6 separate regions of the Homo sapiens genome follow, and regions 2, 3, 4, 5 and 6 are each linked to region 1. The links are contacts of gene promoters, found by promoter capture Hi-C in blood cells and fetal thymus (Javierre and others, 2016). All regions are on one chromosome and are shown on one strand. The core of a region is centred on a gene start or on the middle of the fragment in contact, and the rest is flanking DNA. Distances in the headings are between cores, read along the strand shown. Region 1 holds the start of PRSS8 (serine protease 8). Region 2 overlaps SETD1A (SET domain containing 1A, histone lysine methyltransferase). Region 3 overlaps ITGAX (integrin subunit alpha X). Region 4 overlaps ITGAM (integrin subunit alpha M). Region 5 has its middle 8.2 kb from the start of ITGAX. Region 6 overlaps ITGAM (integrin subunit alpha M).

Region 1 (3,094 bases), core at 296-2,795:
ACCTCCACCTCCTGGGTTCAAGCGATTCTCCTGCCTCAGCCTCCTGAGTAGCTGGAATTACAGGTGCGTGCTACCACGCCTGGCTAATTTTTGTATTTTTAGTAGAAATGGGGTTTCACCATGTTGTTCAGGATGGTCTCAAACTCCTGACCTCGTGATTCGTGTGCCTTGGCCTCCCAAAGTGCCGAGATTAGAGGCGTGAGCCACCACACCCAGCCTCAACAGGTGTTTTGAACGGCCAGAGTGGCCCTCAAGGAGGATACATGCCTCACTCCCACCGCAGCCACACGGCAAGCCTTCTTTCCCTGAGCCTCTGCCCTCTGCACCCCATCCCCCCATCTTCGCCTTACCACCTTTTATAATCCCTTTCGGTCTCAGTTTCCAAGGCAATTCCTCGAGGACCCTTTCACAATGCCAGCCTTTGCCAGGCTGTGGTGTGCTCACGCCATTCTTTTTCATCACTATTCCTAGCTTGAAATTATTGTGTAATTGCAATTTTTTTTTTTAAGACAGGGTCTCCCTCTGTTGCCCAGGCTGGAGTGCAGTGGCGTGATCATAGCTCAATGCTTCGTTGAACTCCTGGGCTCAAGCAATCCTCCTGCCTCAGCCTCCCAAATAGCTGGAACCATAGGCATGCGCCACAATGCCTGCCTAATTTTTATATTTCTTTGTAGAGATGAGGCCTCGCTATATTCCCCAGGCTGGTCTGGAACTCCTGGCTTCAAGTGATGCTCCAGCCTCAGCCTCCCAAAGCCGACTAGCCACCTTGCCAGCCTGTTTGTGATTATTTGATTGAAGTGTGTCACCCCTACTTCACCATGAGCTCAGGGCTCAAGGGGGACGGGGCTGGTGCCTGTTTTGTCCTGGACACCTGGGAACATCATAGGCACTTAGGAAATGTCTGTGGGATGATTGGTGCTGCTCCACAAGCTCGCCACCACCCATGAGGTGCAGGCATCGCAGAAAGGGCCTGGCAGGGGACAGACCATAGTGTCTTAAGCTCCCATAACCAGCCTAAGGAGGGAGGGAAGAAGGGAGGAGTGGCTGTGGCTCCAGATAATAAAAGCTGGGGCCAGGCCCTGGGGGGCATAACTGGCCTGAGATAACCTGAAAGACCTGAGGCGGAGGAGAGTCGTCACATTCCAGGGAGACTGCACACACACACAAACCACATGCACGTGCATGCACGCACACTCAGACACACACACTACACACACAGGGACACACACAGCCTACACATGTGCACATACAGCCTGTACATGCACACACACACACATACCACACCACATAAGAGGACACACACAGCCTACACAGGCATACACACACACCACATACACACTACACACCGGGACACACACACAAAAGGCCTATGCATGTGCACACACATACACACGGACACATACATGCACACACACGGGCCTGCAGCTCTGAAAGGACTCATGACTTTGGTGGCAAGAGGAGCTGGCGGAGCCCAGCCAGTGGGCGGGGCCAGGGGAGGGGCGGGCAGGTAGGTGCAGCCACTCCTGGGAGGACCCTGCGTGGCCAGACGGTGCTGGTGACTCGTCCACACTGCTCGCTTCGGATACTCCAGGCGTCTCCCGTTGCGGCCGCTCCCTGCCTTAGAGGCCAGCCTTGGACACTTGCTGCCCCTTTCCAGCCCGGATTCTGGGATCCTTCCCTCTGAGCCAACATCTGGGTCCTGCCTTCGACACCACCCCAAGGCTTCCTACCTTGCGTGCCTGGAGTCTGCCCCAGGGGCCCTTGTCCTGGGCCATGGCCCAGAAGGGGGTCCTGGGGCCTGGGCAGCTGGGGGCTGTGGCCATTCTGCTCTATCTTGGATTACTCCGGTCGGGGACAGGTAAGTGAGGACGTGGGGGCAGGGTGGGGACAATGCACTGGAGGGAGCCGGCGTGATCATTTTCTGGGGTGTGCCCTTGTCTGGGGCCCAAGAAAACCCCCGGCCTCCCTAGCTCTTGGCCTCTCTTTCCCACCTTGGCTCTGTCAGGGAAGGGGCCAGCCCTCTGGAGCAGTGGTGGGTACTAAGGGGTCAGGGAACCCGAGTCTTCCCTACTCACCCCTCCTCTTTCTCTTTCTTTCTAGGAGCGGAAGGGGCAGAAGGTGAGACTTTCCTCGGAGAGGGAGGAGGGGAGGGGGAGGTGACTTGGATCGGATTCCCCTGGGGTTTAACCAGTGCCTGGCCTTCAGCTGGGCTGCCTTCCAACTAGATTCTCTTAGGGCTCCCAGAGTGGGGGGTTTTAGCCCTCACCTTATGGGCAGAGAAGCAGGGACTTGCCCAGGGCACACTGCCAGTGAAGGTGCAGCTGGGATTCAGATCCACGTCTGACTCCCAAAGTGGGGCAATCGAGGTGGTTTTTTTGGTTTGGTTTTTGTCTTTTGAAACAGGGTCTGGGTCTGTCGTCACCCAGGCTGGAGTGCAGTGGCCCGATCGCAGCTCACTGCAGTCTCAGTGATCCAGCCTCCCGGGCTCACGTGATCCTCCCACCTCCCCACCTCAGCCTCCCTAGTGGCTGGGACTACAGGTGCATGCCATCACACCCAGCTAGTTGTGTTTTGTTTTTGTTTTTGTTTTTGTTTGGTAGAGATGTGGGTCTCACTATGTTGGCCGGGCAGGTCTTGAACTCCTGGGCTCAAGCGATCCTCCTGCCTTGGCCTCTCAAAGTGCTGGGATTACAGGTGTGAGCCACCGTTCCCATCCTGGAGGTGGTTTTGAGGGAACCAAACCAAGGGTCTCCTTTCTTGGAAGGCACCCAACCCAGCTCTGAGTCAGACCGGCTTTCAATCCTGGCTTCCCCATGCACTGGCTGTGTGTCATTGGCCAAGTCCCCCCACTTCTCTAAGCCTTAGACTCCTCACCTCTAAAATGAAGCTGGTCATGTCCGTCTCCTGGGGCTGTGGAGAGGATGCAGGGAGATGAGGAAGCGAAAGCCCCTCCAGGGCCTGGCACAGCCGCTAGGCTCTCTAAATAGTGGCTATTGTCATGATGATAAGGGAGAGAAAGATCTGGTCTGCAATTTTCTCTGCTCCTAGATGACTTTGTGAAGAGCAGTTGGGCTCCACTCCAAAGTGGCCTCAA
Region 2 (2,950 bases), core at 451-2,950, 170 kb after region 1:
AAGGAAGGGGGCCCCCTCTCCCTCTCCCCACCCTACCCCACAAAACGACAGTTCTGAGTACCTTGAATGAAGGCAGCCGCAGGGCCCCTCTCAGCCCTGACCCAAAGGCGAAAGCCTCGATGCCCGTAGTGCCCCCGCTCTTGGCCCAGTCCACGAGGGACAGCAGGCCAGGCTCCTTCAGCTTCGTCTTCTCTTTATCCTCCTCCTTGGCTTGCTGCTTGGCCGCGTTCTGGAATGGCTGCAGGCAGCAGTGGGGCTGAGCCCCAGCGCCCAGAACCCAGGCATTCCCTCCTGCCTGAGACCTACTCCCGGACCCCAGGAATACAGAACGCATCTACTTGCTGCTCCATATCTTGGTCACACCTGTCCCAGCCCCCGCACGGCATTTTCTCAAAAGTCTGTCATTTCGCCCACCAGTCTTAAGAAATAGCCACCATTCCCACTTCACAAGTGGCAAAATGGAAGACCAAAGCTTGAAGAGAGCTAAGGGCCTTGTCCACTGCAAGCCAGCAAGGAATGGAGCCAGGACAAAGCTCTGCTGCCTCCCAGGCCCATCTGTGCCTGCTTCTCTGTCCCCTCAACTCCCCTGCCCACCCAGGGTGGCCTGCAGGGCCTGCGGCCTCTCTCCACTCGCCTCCATCACCTGTCTCCTCTGAGCTGTGCAGCCTGGAGGAGCCAGAGGCCCATTTCCTCCTGCAAAGCCCAGGGCTCCCCGGTCCCAGGCGCTGGCCTCACCTTGGCCTTCTCCTCCTTGCTCTCCCACCACTGGTCAAAGGCTCCGAAGGCCACGTTCTCCACCATCTTGCGGTTGAGGTCTCGCTGCATGATGCTCTTCATCTCCTGGACCAGCATGGCGAGCACACGGCCCACGGTGCCTGCTGTCGGGAGGGTCTTGCCCTCTGCCAGCTCTGCTTCTTCCCTGGGTGGCAGCCGGGCCTCCTCTCCCGAGACTGAGGAGGAGGGCAGGGGCTCGGCTGCCATTGGCATGGGCAGGTGGTAGGCCTCCCGTGAGTATGCCCCTCTGCCCTCCTGCCCCTGTGCATATAGAGCATACGGCAAGCCGTAGGCTGCCTCCTGCGGGGGTGGAAACGGGAGGAAGGCCTCCCCAAAGGCCCCACCGGGGGGGCCAGCTGAGGCGGCAATCAATCCCTTGCCCTGCCGCAGCTGATGGAGCCGAGTTAACATCTGGGTCTGCATCTGGAAGGACATGGGCATCCCTCCCCACTGAGCCCCAAGTCGGTCCATGAGCTCCAAGGAGTTCACAAAGTCATAGATGTGCGGGGGTGGTGGAGGAGGTGGGGGGTACTCAGGGGGCGGCGGCCCATCAGGTCTGGGTGGGAGGAGGTAGGCAGGTTGGTGGGGAGGATAACCAAGAGGAAGGGACGCCAGGTAGGGAGGAGGAGGCGGCGGGGGAGGGGGAGGTGGCGGAGGCTGCTGAGGGGGCGTCGGGGCCGGAGGGGGTGAGCCACCCCGGTCGTCGTCGGAGATCTCCATGTCGTCTCCAGAAGAGCATGGAGAAGCCTGCGGGGGCAGAAGAGGGTCACAGAAGGCTTCTGCCTGACCCAAGCCCTACTTTCTCATCTGGTTCCCTTCCCTCTCCCCTAGGCCCAACCCTGACTCCCAGAGCCCAGGTGCCTCCTCTGGCTGACCCCAACCTCACCTGGTTCTGTCCATTTGCCTTGGGAGACTCCCGGGTAGCCCCTGGCTCCCCGCTCCCTGTAGGTGCCACATCCTCAAAATTAGCTGGGGCCGGAGGGGGTGTGCAGGGCCCATGCCCTGACCCAGAAGGCACCTCACTCCCTGTATCTCTGGCCCCAAGGACCATGCTGCTGTTCTCTTCCTCCTCCTCTGTGTCAGAGGCCAAGAAGGAAAACTTGGAGCGCTGCTCCTTCAGCAGCATCTCGATGCGGGAATCCAGGCTGCTGTGCTGGGCGAAGGGCACACTCTCATTGGTGGTCTCCGGGGCTGGGGAGCCAGAGCGGGCAGGGGAGGCTGGGCGGGGGGAAGTCCGAACTTCTTCTCTCTCAGGGCTGGGCCCTCCTCCACCCCCGCCTCCACCAGGTTCTGGAGGCTCCGGGGGTGGAGCCTCTGAGGCAGGAGGCCGGTAGTCCTGGTCGGTGGGCCGGCTGGGCTCGGGGGGCAGGTAGGAGGTGTAAGAAGGTGGGAAGCGCTCAGCTGTATTTTCAGCAAAAGGGGCTCCAGGGGGTTCCTCCCGTGTGGCCCGGCGTGGTGGGTAGGAAGTATGGCGCTGGTAGCGATTCCAGCTTTCATAATACGCTGGGTAGTTTGCATCAGAACTACGAAACTGAGAGGACGAGGAGGAAGAGGATGACGAGGAGGACGAGGACAATGAGGAGGAAGAGGCGGAGGATGAGGCAGTGGCTGCAGTGGTGGCGGCGATGGCCGTGGAGGCGGTTGTGGAGGCTGAAGATGCAGAGAAGTGGCGGCGGGAAAAGGCATCTTGGTAGCTGTTCTCTGACCGCCGGGGCTTGAAGGAGGTTGAAGTGGTGCTGGAGAAGAAGCAGGGGAGTTAGCTGGACTCAGCTCTCTATGACCAAACCACAGCGTACTGGGTCCCAGGGCCCAAAGCCCCTCTATGCTGCCCTCCAAAAGAAGAGCTATATGTTGGGTTCCTAGCTAGTGTGTTCCCCGAGGACAGCAATTTGTTGACTGAATCCACAGAGAAACTAGGACAAATTATTTCCAACTCCCTCTTGGAGACAGACTCTGGGCATCTTCTTCCCAGTGGCAGCTCCCAGACTTTGCGGGCGGGGCCCCAGGCGGGGTCTGCTCTGTACCTGCTGGAGTAGGCAGAGTCCTGAGAGTAGGGGGTGCTGCCCCGAGACGTGTAGGGGGTTCCTTGGGAGGACTGAGGTGTGAACTGGCCAAAGGAAGATGGGGTATCTTGTCGGCTGCTGGAGAAGCTTGTGTCCTGGGAGCAGGGGGTGCC
Region 3 (2,758 bases), core at 112-2,611, 240 kb before region 1:
GCTGAAGGAAGGTGTCTGCTGAAACACCTGACCTTTTAGTTTCAAACACCTTATCTCACCCTCTGTGGCAGCGTTTCAAGGCCTTTTTTTTTTTTTCTTTTTGAGGTCAGAGAGAAGAACCCTTTTTCCTGCAGTGGGGTACCTGCTGACCTGCTAACCACAGTGTAGACAGCATACTTCACCGGGAGCTCCAGCTGGAAGGTGGTCTTGCTGGTCCTGGGAGTGTTGTTCTCACTGGAGAAAGAGGAGAGACTCAGTTGCCAGAGGCCCCAGAGGAGGAGAATGGGGTGTGAGGCTGGAGATGAGGGGCACTGCCCCTGGCCTGGCCCGGCTCACCTGCTCACATTGGCTGTCAGAAGCAGCCGGTCTCCCAGGACAGCCTTGGGGGAGACGTCAAAGGTAGCCAAGAAGGTGATCTGAGGAAAAGGAACTGAGAGGTCACAGAGCAGTAAAGACAGGGTGGGGCAGGGGAGCAGTGAGGGGACAGAAGCCAGGCTGACCTGGGCGCCGCCACGGAAGATGAGGTGGTTGATTCTGCAGCTGGTGCTCCAGGTGCCCTGGCTCCCAACTGGGGCGCTGTCACATGTCAGGTGCAGGGAACGCAGCTGCCCTTGTTTCTAGGCATGAGAAAAAGTAGAGGAGTATTAGTTGAAATTGAAAGCAATGGCAAAAACCCAATTACTTTTGCACCAACCTAATATAACAGCATTCCAAAGACACGCCACGAAGTAGTGATAAAGCTTCCTGGAGCCCACCTTAAGCTTATGTTTTTGTTTGTTTGTTTGTTTTTTGAGACCAGGTCTCACTCTGTCACCCAGGCTAGAAAGCAGTGATGCAATCACAGCTCACTGCAGCCTCAAACTCTGGCCTCAAGCCATCCTCTTGCCTCAGCCTCCTGAGTAGCTAGGACTACAGGCACACACCACCACCATGCCTGGCTAATTTTAAAAAAATTTTTTTATAAATGGGACCTCGCTATATTGCCCAGGCTGGTCTTGAACTCCTGGCCTCAAGCAATCCTCCCATCTTGTCCCCCCAAAACACTAGGATTACAGGTATGAGCCACCATGTCCAGCCAAGGTTACGTTTTTAAAAGCTCCCCCATAGCTATCTGGTCAAACTTTCTTCCAAAGTAGAAATCTCAAATGTATTAAAATGTTCACCTTTTTATTGTTATTTTAAAGGCCTCTTATAATGGAAAATTTAAAACACATTAAAAAATAGAGAGACTGGAAAATCAACCCCATATAACCATCACTCATTTTAAGTAACCAACATTTTTCTACTCTTGTTTCTGCTATGTTCTCTTTCTGAACACTTTAAAGCACATTCCAAACACCATATTGTTTCATCTAGAAATACTTCAGTGTATACCACCAATAGATAAGGGTATTTTAAATGTAACCACAAGAACCAACAAATCACAGCCAACAAAATTAACAATTACTCCTTAATATACCAATATACTGGTCATGTTCTATTTTCTTAGATTGTCTCCAAAAATGTTATTTTACAGCTCATTTGTTAAAATCAATATTCAGCAAAGGTCCACCCATTACATTTGGTTGATATGTCTAGGAGCACTTTCATTGACAGTGATCACCCCTCACATGCAAGAGATGGCCTTTCCTGCTGTGTTCTTTTATACGTTAATCAAAATGCGCTTCCGCTGGGAATATTAGACTAAGAGAGACAGCAGAAATAACAACCAACCATCATGTATGGACCTAGTTCGAATTTTCGTTCAAATAGACCAGAAGTAAAAAGATATTTTTGAGACAGTTACACAATTTTGACTATGATCTTAATACCAAGGAATCACTTATTTCATTGGGTGTGATAATGGTGTTGAGGTCATATAAGAGGTCCTCATTGTTCAGAACTATAGAGTGTGTCTTTGTCTGTTCCCTGCTGCTATAACAGATTACCGCAAACTAGGTAATGTATCAATAGAAGCTTTGTGGTTCTGGAGGCTGGGAAGTCCAAGAACATGGCACCAGCATCTGGTGAGGGCCTTTGTGCTGCATGTGCAAGGCAGTGCATGTGAGAGTGAGAGGGAAAGGGGGCCAAACTCATCCTTTAATTAGAAACCCACTCCTGGGCTAGGCTCCGTGGCTTACGCCTGTAATCCTAGTACTTTGGGAGGCCGAATCGGGTGGATCATTTGAGGTCAGGAGTTCAAGACCAGACTGCCCAACATGGTGAAACCCCATCTCTACTAAAAATGCAAAACTTAGCTGGGCGTGGCAGTGGGCACCTGTAATCCCAGCTACTCAGGAGGCTGAGGCACAAGAATTGCTTGAATTCGGGAGGCAGAGGCTGCAGTGAGCCAAGATCGTGCCACTGCACCCTAGCCTGGGCAACAGAGCAAGACCCTCTCAAGGAAAGAAAGAAAGAAGGAAAAGAAAGAAAGAAAAAGAAAGAAGAAAGGAAGGAAGGAAACCCACTCCTGAAATAACTAATCTACTCTTGAGATAATAGTATTCATCCATTCATGAGGGCAAAGCCCTCATAACCTAATCACCTTTAAAAGGTTTCACCTTTCAACACTGTTGCATTGGGGATTAAGTGTCCAACACACGAACATTGGGTGATGCATTCAAACCATAGCAGAGTGAATAAGGAGGAGTACAATGACCCCCATGTCTGAGATTTGTTTTAAAATACTTTAGCAGGTCAGGCACAGTGGCTCATGTCTGTAACTCCAACACTTTGGGAAGCTAAGATAGGAGGACTGCTTGAACCCAGGGGTTAGAGA
Region 4 (3,161 bases), core at 12-2,511, 160 kb before region 1:
GCATGGTGGTGCATGCTTGTAATCCCAGCTACTCAGGAGGCTGAGAGAGGAGAATCGCTTGAACCCAGGAGGTAAGGTTGCAGTGAGCCGAGATTGTGCCACTGCACTCCAGCCTGGGCGACAGACTGAAACTTTTGTCTCAAAAACTAAAAAAAAATAAAACAGCCAAACTCATTGAAGCAAAGAATATAATGGTGGCTGCCAGAGGCTAGAGAACAATGAGGAGTTGCTAATCAATGGGTATACATTTTCAATATGCAAGATGAAGTTCAAGAGGTCTGCTGTACAACATTGCACCAATAGATGACAGTATTACATTGTACATTTTAAAATCTGTTAAGAGGATAGGTCTCATGTTAAGTGCCCTTACCACAATAAAAAAATTTTTAAACATAAAGAAAGAAAAATGTAAGGCTAGCAAAAACCCAGAGACCAGAGGCCAGAAAACTAGATGGTCTCAGGTGGCTATGGTGGGAAAGAATATGAACAGGGAAGATGGAACCAGACTGTAAGGGTCCCTCCAGACAGTGGGCTCCACCTGGCAGGAGACAGAAAGCCAACTTACAGAGCAAAACAGTTGTCAGGTCCAGAATATAGGGTGACAAGTCATCAGGATGGGCTCCATGCTTTGCAAGACCCAATGCAAAAAAACGTAGGACCCCTTGTTGAAAAATTACTAAGAATTGAAGATGGCAATAGCAGAGCATTAAGCCAAGCACAGGGCGATTCTGAGAGAGGGGCACGTGTGACTGCACAATTCCACATCTGTGAAGTGTGCAATCCCGTAAGGTGGCCAACCGCATAGGTTTCCCAGGATGTGGGATTTCAGTACTAAATCTGGGACAGAGTTAAGCAAACTAGAGCTCTTGGTCACCTTACCAGGACCGAGATTCAGAAGAAAGGAATGCCTGCATCCCAATACTGCTAGCTTGCCATTTGCCATCGCTGGGCCTTGATCTACTCATCTGTAAAGTGGGGGTGATGAGGCTATCATGCACCTCCTATTGCTGTAGAAATAATCAATCTGGAACTAAGAGTCTTTGAGATTTCTGTGAATGTGTGTGTGTGTGTGCACGTGCACGCATGCATGTGCAAGTCTGACTCTGTCACTCTGGCTGCTGGAGTACAGTGGTGTGACCAGGACTCACTGCAGCCTCAACCTCCCAGGCTCAAGTAATCCTCCGGCCTCAGCCTCCAGAGTAGCTGGGACCATGGGTGTATGCCACCACACCTGGCTAATTTTTTTTTTTTTTTTTTTTTTTTGGAGAGATGGGTTCTCACCATGTTGCCCTGACTGGTCTTGAGCTCCTGGGCTTAAACAATCCTCCCAACTCAGCCTTCCAAAGTGCTGGGATTACAGGCGTCAGCCACCAGGCCCAGCCACATGTTATTATTTTTGAAGGTTCTGAAAGGAGTACTGTGAGAACTTATCTGGCAGCTGTGGGCACACTGAATTAGGAGAAAGATCAACAAAGAGGCTACTGTCATGACAAGGACAGTGACCAGGTCTCACCTGGCTATGGGAGGGGCTGATGCCAGATCCTGAGGTTCCGTGAAACAGGTAAACAGCACCCCGGTTGTCCTCCTCTCCTGGGGCCCCAATGGCCACGTCCGTCAGCTTGTCCCCATTTACGTCCCCCAGCACTGTTAGGGCTGCCCCAAAGCGGCCCCAGGGTTGGCCCTGCTCCCCGTAGAGAACAGCATCACACTGCCACCGAGCCCTCTGCTAAACACAAACAGTATCAGGCCCCAACCCAGGCGACCCCTCCACCCACACCGGGCCCCACCCAGCCCAGGTCCCATTGCCACTCACCCCCCTGGGCAAGGGGCACACGGACACCTGGCCCCCTCGGGTCTGCTCGTAGTAATGGGGGGCCCCGATGAGGACCAGGTCGGTGCTGCCGTTGCTGTCCACGTCCACGGAGCAGAGGGAGGCCCCGAAGTAGGCGCCGATCTGAAAGAGACAGGACCGTAATCACACACCTCTTCCCACCTAAAGCAGATGTGGAGGTTTTCTCTCTCTGAAGAAAAGTTATGCCTGCTGGGGGAATCCCTCTGGAGCAGATGTGATCTTCTATATGGTTCATGATAAATTATCACTTGAATGTGCTGCCAGCTAAAGGAACCTATATAATAAGCCTGGCAGAATGGTTTCTGCCTGTAATCCCAGCTCCTCGGGGGGCTGAAGTGGGAGGATCCCTTGAGCCAAGGAGTTTAAGGCTGCAGTGAGCTTTGTCACCACTGCACTCCAGCTTGGGCAACAGAGCAAGATCCCAATCTCTAAGTGTATATATATATTTTTTAATAATTTAAAAGATAAAAAATAAGCCTATAGTAGAGTCAATGGGCAGTGAGTGAGGATTTACTCCAGGTGGTATTCCTGGGAGATTATTAAGGCAGCAAAGAAGAATTTGGGTTGGAAAATACATAGAAAATTCTAGAAGAGAAGACAGAATACCACCCTTTCAATATATTGGGAATCTTTAGGGAGGTAAAAAGTCAAAGTTGGCACTCTGACTAATAAGGCTAATAACTGGCTTAGATTAAAAATAACTATTTGTTATTTGAATATTTGTTGTGATATTAAGAAATATCTTCAAGGTCAATATGTAGAATTCATCCATAAAATTCACCTATTTAATCATACATTCATTCATTCATTTATTCATTCATTCAACAAACAAGTGTTTCTTATTGCTAAGCACACAGCTGGGTAATAGAGATACAGTGCCTTCCAGGGCCCTCAGTGCAGCCAGGTGGAGGAGAGGAGAGTAATCAATGGATTAACAGGGAGATGTGTATAGCAATTTCAAACTGGGACAAGTTCTAGAAAGGGAATGTGCAGGGGACATCATGCCACGGCTCTGCAACGTGATTTCTGCCTCATACACCATTGAGGGAAGACTCATTGATAACTGAATACTTTATCCTAAAGTCAACAGAATTTGATTGTTTTTTAGGTCAGATTTATTGGGGAAGAGTTTACATACAATAAAATTCAGCCTTTTAGTACATAGTTTTATGAGTTTTGACAAACATATAAAGTCATATAACCGGCCAGATGCAGTGGCTCATGCCTGTAATCCCAGCATTTTGGGAGGCCAGGGCGTGTGGATCACCTGAGGTCAGGAGTTCGAGACCAACCTGGAAATCATGGTGAA
Region 5 (2,923 bases), core at 94-2,593, 210 kb before region 1:
CTCCCATCACCCATCCGTCCTACACCCACAGACAGGAACTGACCCCTGGTTGTATCTGCTCAGTGTCCAATGCCCATCATTGGAGAGACAAGGAGAAGAAAGCAGGATAGAGTGGGGAAAGAGGCTAAGTGACAAGGAGCTCTCCCCTGACCCTGACTCCAGCCTGGTCCCCGGAAGCTGTGAGCATGAATGGGTCCTTCCTTGAGGCTGAAGTGTGGCCCTTGGTTCTCCCCGGGTGGGTCAGTCATTGACCACCAGCCATTCTTCCCCACTTCCTCTAGCTTATCCCACTGCCACACAGAAGAAGGGGCTACTCCCCTGCAGGCAAGACCATTCCCCAGAGATTGGGGGCACTTGTGAGCCTTGAGCATCAACACAGCAACTGAGAAATTGGTGTTAACCCAATGTTAACCCTCCAAGCAAGAGTTTTTAAGGGCGAGGTACATTTCAGGAAAGCAGAAGTTACAGGCAAAATCATAAACCAATACCTGGAGGTTATACATTAGTTTGGCCTAAAAAGCCAGGATATCTTGAAGCAAGGCTTACAAGTCATACATGGGTTCAAAGATTCTTTGATTTGCAATTGGTTAAGGAAGGAAAGCTTCATCTAAAAACTTGGGGTCAGCAGGAAGGAATATTAAGGTCTGGCCTATGGGAGTGACTGTCTCTCCAGGGCCCTCAGGAAGAAATTTAGAGCAAAGAATAGTGATCAGAGTTCAGTCTTCACTTCCTCCTTATCAGTGGCCTACATACCAGCAGATGGCATTTTCCATCTGGGGGTGATATGGTTTGGATTTGTGTCCCCACTCAAATCTCATGTTGGATTATAATCTGCAGTGTTGGAGGAGGGGCCTGGTGGGAGGTGATTGGACCATGGGTGCGGATTTCTCCCTTGCTGTTCTCGTGATAGTGAGTGAGTCATCACAAGATCTGGTTGTTTAAAAGTGTGTAGCACCTCGCCCTGGTCTGTCTTCTTTCCTTCTCCAGCCGTGTAAGACATGACTCCTTCCTCTTCGCCTTCCACCATGACTGTAAGTTTCCTGAGGCCTCCCCATCCATGCTTCTTATAATGCCTGAGGAACCATTAGCCAATTAAATCTCCTTTCTTTATAAATTACCCGGTCTCAGGAAGTTCTTTGTAGCAATGCAAGAACGGACTAATACAGTGGGGGTCCAGGTTTCTGAAAAACAACTCAGGGATGTACGTTAAAACCCTTGGTTTTCTGGGGAACCACACATCTTGTGGCTCTCACTTCCTTGGCTATTGTTTGAAGTGACTGTTATCTTCTTGCTTACCGGGCTGCTCATATACTTCTCCAGATTAGCAAGGTGCCTGGAATTCTCCTTGAAGAAACTCAAGATTTTTCTTTATTTCCATGTGTAGGGGAACCCAGCAGGCCTCTGAAACGGATCCACGCTCAGTCTCAGGCACAGACAACATCTAGTGACCACAGAATGATTTCATCTTAATCCCTTTTTAGGGTAAAAGGAGGGAGTGAGAGAATCCCTAGGAAGGTGGGGTGAGAGAACAGAACAGGGCAGAAATCCAGGGTCTCTGTGAGAACTTGAACCAGTGGGGCCGTGCCTGGGAGGGGCTGGGCTGGAGATGCCTGTGTGAATTAAGAGAGGGAGAATTCCAAAGAGGAGGAGTAAGGCAGGGTCATCCCACTCAGCTTCTCTCTCCTGGCCCTGGCATGGTAGCAGGATTGGTCTCAACAGGCAAATGCGTATATGGCAGAACTTGGCAACCAATGCATTCCGTTCACATTCACTCAGCCCAGCCTGCAGAGGGATCTTATCCTTTAATGGCAGTGGGGCATAGGGGGCAGATAAGGGGAAGGATTTTAGCAATTGTTCAAGTCTGCGCCAAGATGGGAATGCCCACAGAGGAAGCAGAAAGGAAATTGCTCTATTGATCTATTTATCACAGTAGCTGGACCAGAGGATTGCGGAAAGACACAAAGACCAACCAAATGAGAACAGGCGAAGTCTATTTATTCAAAGCTGGCTCTAGCAAGGGAGTCAGTGGCCATCACTGGTGTTTTGGCAGAGACTCAAAAATGGGCAGTACAGTAGGAAAGCTTTGTAGTGGAAACTGGGAAGTCTTCAGGGATGCCCCAAGTAGAAGCTGCTGGCCTGGGAAGCTGTATGTGGCTCACTGGAAGCGGGCATCCTGTGCAATTGACTAGGGGACATATTTGGCTTTGTCTGGTTGGTCCTAAGTTGGAAGTAGGGACAAAAATTAGGGAAGCCATCAGTTATTGATTAAGTCCTGGACATGGGGCTGATTGTTAGTTATTGATAGGCTTCCTGGGCTGGTTGCTGCAGGCTGGGGGGCAGATGTCTATTTTTATGTCTAGTCTGACCACTATCCCTTTGTATATTCAGTCTCTTGGACTCTAGAAAATGTGAAGTATGCCAGGTGCGGTGGCTCATGCCTGTAATCCCAGCACTTTGGGAGGCAGAAGCAGGAGGATCACTTGAGCTCAGGAGCTCAAGACCAGCCTGGGCAACACAGCAAGACCCTGACTTTACAAAAATTTAAAAATTAGGCTAGTACTGGCTGGGCACGGTGGCTCACACCTGCAATGCCAGCACTTTGGGAGGCTGAGGTGGGCAAATCACGAGGTCAGGAGTTCAAGACCAGCCTGACCAACATGGTGAAACCCCGTCTCTACTAAAAATACAAAAATTAGCCAGGCGTGGTAGCGGGTGCCTATAATCCCAGCTACTCAGGAAGCTGAGGAAGGAGAATTGCTTGAACCCAGGAGGCGGAGGTTGCAGTGAGCTGAGATCGTGCCATTGCACTCCAGCCTGGATGACAGAGCAAGACTCCGTCTCAAAAAAATAAATAAATAATTAGGCTAGCACAGTAATGTGGGCCTGTAGTCCCAACCACTCAGGAGGCTGAAGCAGGAGGATC
Region 6 (2,764 bases), core at 87-2,586, 130 kb before region 1:
GCCTGAGAGAAAGAGTGAGATTCTGTCTCAAAAAAATAAGAAATAAAAATGAAAATAGAACTCAGCCAGCAATGACACGTGGGCTTCATCTCCCATGCCAACCTTAACAATTAGAGCTGCCCGCTTTATAAAAGGCTGAAAGAATGCTGAGGCTGCATCCAACAGAGCAGAAAAGAGACTCAGGAAGGCAAACCATAATCGATCGTCAATTTGGCAATGTCTGCAGTTGAACTGGGAGGAGAACATGGTGGCCCGGTTGCCATGTATCTTCCAGCCCCGTGTGGGCTCTTCCCTAACCTACCCCTGGGCCCTCACCAAGGTTTTGGACTTTTTTAATTGCTCCATCACAGTTGAGACAAACTCCTTCATCCGCCGAAAGTCATGTGGGATGATGCTACCAGAGCCATCAATCAAGAAGGCAATGTCACTATCCTCTTGAGGACACCCTGGGGAAGGGGAAAAGAGTATGAATCAAGTAATTTGACACTTGGTGTTTTGGGTTTTTTTGCATGTCAGCCCTCTGCTGAACAATGAGAATATAGGACCCCGTCTCTATAAAAAATATAGATGTTAAATATATATATAAATTATGTATAATATATATATAATTTTTAACGTGTGTGTATATATATATATGTATACACACGTTAAAAACATATATATATATATATATATATATATATATATATATATATATATACACACACACACGTTAAAAATTAGTCAGGCATGTTGGCACATGCCTGTAGTCCCAGCTACTCAGGAGGCTGAGGGTGGGGGATCACTTCAGCCCAAAAGGTTGAGGCTTCAGTGAGCTATGATCACGCCATTGCACTCCAGCCTGGGCCACAGAGAAAGACCCTGTCTCTTAAAAATAAATAAATAAGTAAATAAACAAGGACAAAGTGGTATGGAAAATTTTCGTTAATTCTGCCCAAGGGAATCAGGGAATGTGGTGATGTTTGACTGAATCTTGAAGAACAGGAAATAATTTGCCCAGCTGGGCGAGGTGGCTCACACCTGTAATCCCAGCACTTTGGGAGGCTGAGGCAGGTGGATCACTTGAGATCAGGAGTTTGAGACCAGCCTGGCTGACATGGTGAAACCCTATCTCTATTAAAAATACAAAAAGTAGCTGAGATCGCACCACTGCACTCCAGCCTGGGTCACAGAGCAAGACTTCGAAGAAAAGGAAGAAAGGAAGAAAAAAAGGAAAGGAAAGGAAAGGAAAGGAAAGGAAAGGAAAGGAAAGGAAAGGAAAGCAAAGGAGGAAGGAAGGAAGGAAGGAAGGAAGGATTTGCCAGATATACAAAAGGAGTAGATTCTAGAAAAGGGAAGGGCACACACATATAAAGTGATGTGGAATGTGCTCCTCTGCCTTCTGCCCCATCCCCAAATCCACTTTCTACCCATTGCCGCTCAGCTCTGTGGCCTGGGAGGTCAACCTGCAGGGACCCCATCACCAGGACTCTGTTGCCCTCTGGATTCCCATTGGATTTGGCAGATGAGGGGGCTCAACAGAAGACTAGAGGGAGGAGGGCAGTGAGGTCCGGGTGTTCTCCCATTGAGGTTGTTTGGGGACAGCTATGTCCTTCACAAAAGACCAACTGTTCCTCAGAAGGAAGCCAGCTCCACATGACTCTCTCCAGACCCTGGTGAGCTCTCCCTCTCCTCAACCCATAAACCCAGGGGTGGCAACAGACCTGCTTGCCCAGGGCTTGGAAAGTCCCTGATGGCTCCCTTAGGCCTGTCACAGCTTTATAATTACTCCCTTTATAAATAAACCCCCCTCTTTGTAAATAAATCTTACTGAAACCGCCTTTGCAAAATTATGACTGAGACAGTGAAAGAGATCTAACTTAACTGATTCCATCTTGCTTCTAACCTCCAAGCTGTCCGTGTTCATTCCTGGGTGTAGGCTGAGCTAACTTTGGGAGACACTTAGTTTATAGTTTATAGTTTATAGTTTAAACAAAGATCGTAACAGCCCTTTCCCAAAGCAGACCTCCTTCTTACCTGGGGACTAGATTGCCTTTGTAGGACTAACGTTAGCCACAAGATGAGAAATTATGATTTAGGAGTCATGCAGCTGGAGGCTACAAGATTCTGACCCTCCCTAAACTGCTCCTAAAATCAGTGCTTGAGATATTTTGCAGACCTTGCACTTGATGGATCAGCTGGCACTGCCCAGATCAATAAACTGGTTCATCCGATCTTGCTGCCCCCACCCAGGAACCAACTGAACGCAAGAAGACAGCTCCGACTCCCGATGATTTCATCCCTGATCAATCAGCACTCCCAGCTCACTGGCTTCCCCCGCGACCTACCAAGTTATCCTCAAAAACTCTGCCCCCAAATGCTCGAGGAGACTGATTCGAGTGATAATAAAACTCTGGTCCCCTGCATAGCTGGCTCTGTGTGAATTATTCTTTCTCTATCGCAATTCTGCTGTCTTGATGAATCGGCTCTGTCTAGGCAGCAAGCAAGGTGAACCCCTTGGGCAGTTACATTACTGGAATGTGCTTTTGGTCCCAGTTGAGACTCCTACTGATATATGGGACAAGGGCCTCAAAAGGATTCTGGCAGAATCCAGGAATGCCGTTTGATGGAAACAGCACTACAGGGACAAACGTATGTGACGGCGATGGAGACACAGCGGTGGCATCAAGCAAAGAGCAGCGGGCAAGGGCCTTTCTACTCCAATAAGGAGCTCGACTTTATCTGTAGGCAATGGGGAGCCACAGAAGGTTCTTAGAAAAGGAAG

What was found. Contacts are between HindIII fragments. The CHiCAGO score rates a contact against its expected background, and 5 or more counts as called.
Region 2: a contact is called between a fragment that was not itself captured here and the fragment with the promoter of PRSS8 in region 1, in 16 of 17 cell types (M0 macrophages, neutrophils, M1 macrophages and 13 more). The highest score is 12.7, in M0 macrophages.
Region 3: a fragment that was not itself captured here is called in contact with the fragment with the promoter of PRSS8 in region 1 in 13 of 17 cell types (monocytes, total CD8 T cells, naive CD8 T cells and 10 more); the score reaches 13.5 in monocytes.
Region 4: a contact is called between a fragment that was not itself captured here and the fragment with the promoter of PRSS8 in region 1, in 3 of 17 cell types (monocytes, neutrophils and total B cells). The highest score is 8.0, in monocytes.
Region 5: a contact is called between a fragment that was not itself captured here and the fragment with the promoter of PRSS8 in region 1, in 13 of 17 cell types (M0 macrophages, M1 macrophages, M2 macrophages and 10 more). The highest score is 13.0, in M0 macrophages.
Region 6: a fragment that was not itself captured here is called in contact with the fragment with the promoter of PRSS8 in region 1 in 2 of 17 cell types (neutrophils and monocytes); the score reaches 5.7 in neutrophils.

What each region holds. Positions count from the first base shown.
Region 1 is chr16:31,134,178-31,137,271 of GRCh38, reverse strand. It overlaps PRSS8 (serine protease 8), which reads left to right and starts at 1,545. Exons shown (of 6, transcript NM_002773.5): 1 at 1,545-1,858; 2 at 2,101-2,118. The coding sequence starts at 1,774. RefSeq lists an enhancer at 2,484-3,094. The HindIII fragment of the contact is 17,481 bases long and covers 1-3,094 here.
Region 2 is chr16:30,964,172-30,967,121 of GRCh38, reverse strand. SETD1A (SET domain containing 1A, histone lysine methyltransferase) reads right to left here. Exons shown (of 19, transcript NM_014712.3): 6 at 2,799-2,950; 7 at 1,661-2,510; 8 at 736-1,521; 9 at 62-238. Among named protein-coding and RNA genes, the nearest start is that of SETD1A, 7.9 kb to the right of the region's middle. The HindIII fragment of the contact is 2,452 bases long and covers 475-2,926 here.
Region 3 is chr16:31,374,658-31,377,415 of GRCh38, reverse strand. ITGAX (integrin subunit alpha X) reads right to left here. Exons shown (of 30, transcript NM_000887.5): 21 at 501-617; 22 at 337-416; 23 at 151-234. Among named protein-coding and RNA genes, the nearest start is that of ITGAD, 17 kb to the left of the region's middle. The HindIII fragment of the contact is 1,195 bases long and covers 764-1,958 here.
Region 4 is chr16:31,296,307-31,299,467 of GRCh38, reverse strand. It overlaps ITGAM (integrin subunit alpha M), which reads right to left. Exons shown (of 30, transcript NM_000632.4): 13 at 1,814-1,954; 14 at 1,514-1,723. Among named protein-coding and RNA genes, the nearest start is that of ITGAM, 38 kb to the right of the region's middle. The HindIII fragment of the contact is 4,791 bases long and covers 1-3,161 here.
Region 5 is chr16:31,345,552-31,348,474 of GRCh38, reverse strand. No RefSeq gene overlaps it. Among named protein-coding and RNA genes, the nearest start is that of ITGAX, 8.2 kb to the left of the region's middle. The HindIII fragment of the contact is 1,480 bases long and covers 604-2,083 here.
Region 6 is chr16:31,268,636-31,271,399 of GRCh38, reverse strand. ITGAM (integrin subunit alpha M) reads right to left here. Exons shown (of 30, transcript NM_000632.4): 6 at 316-446. Among named protein-coding and RNA genes, the nearest start is that of ITGAM, 10 kb to the right of the region's middle. RefSeq lists an enhancer at 1-118. The HindIII fragment of the contact is 3,863 bases long and covers 1-2,764 here.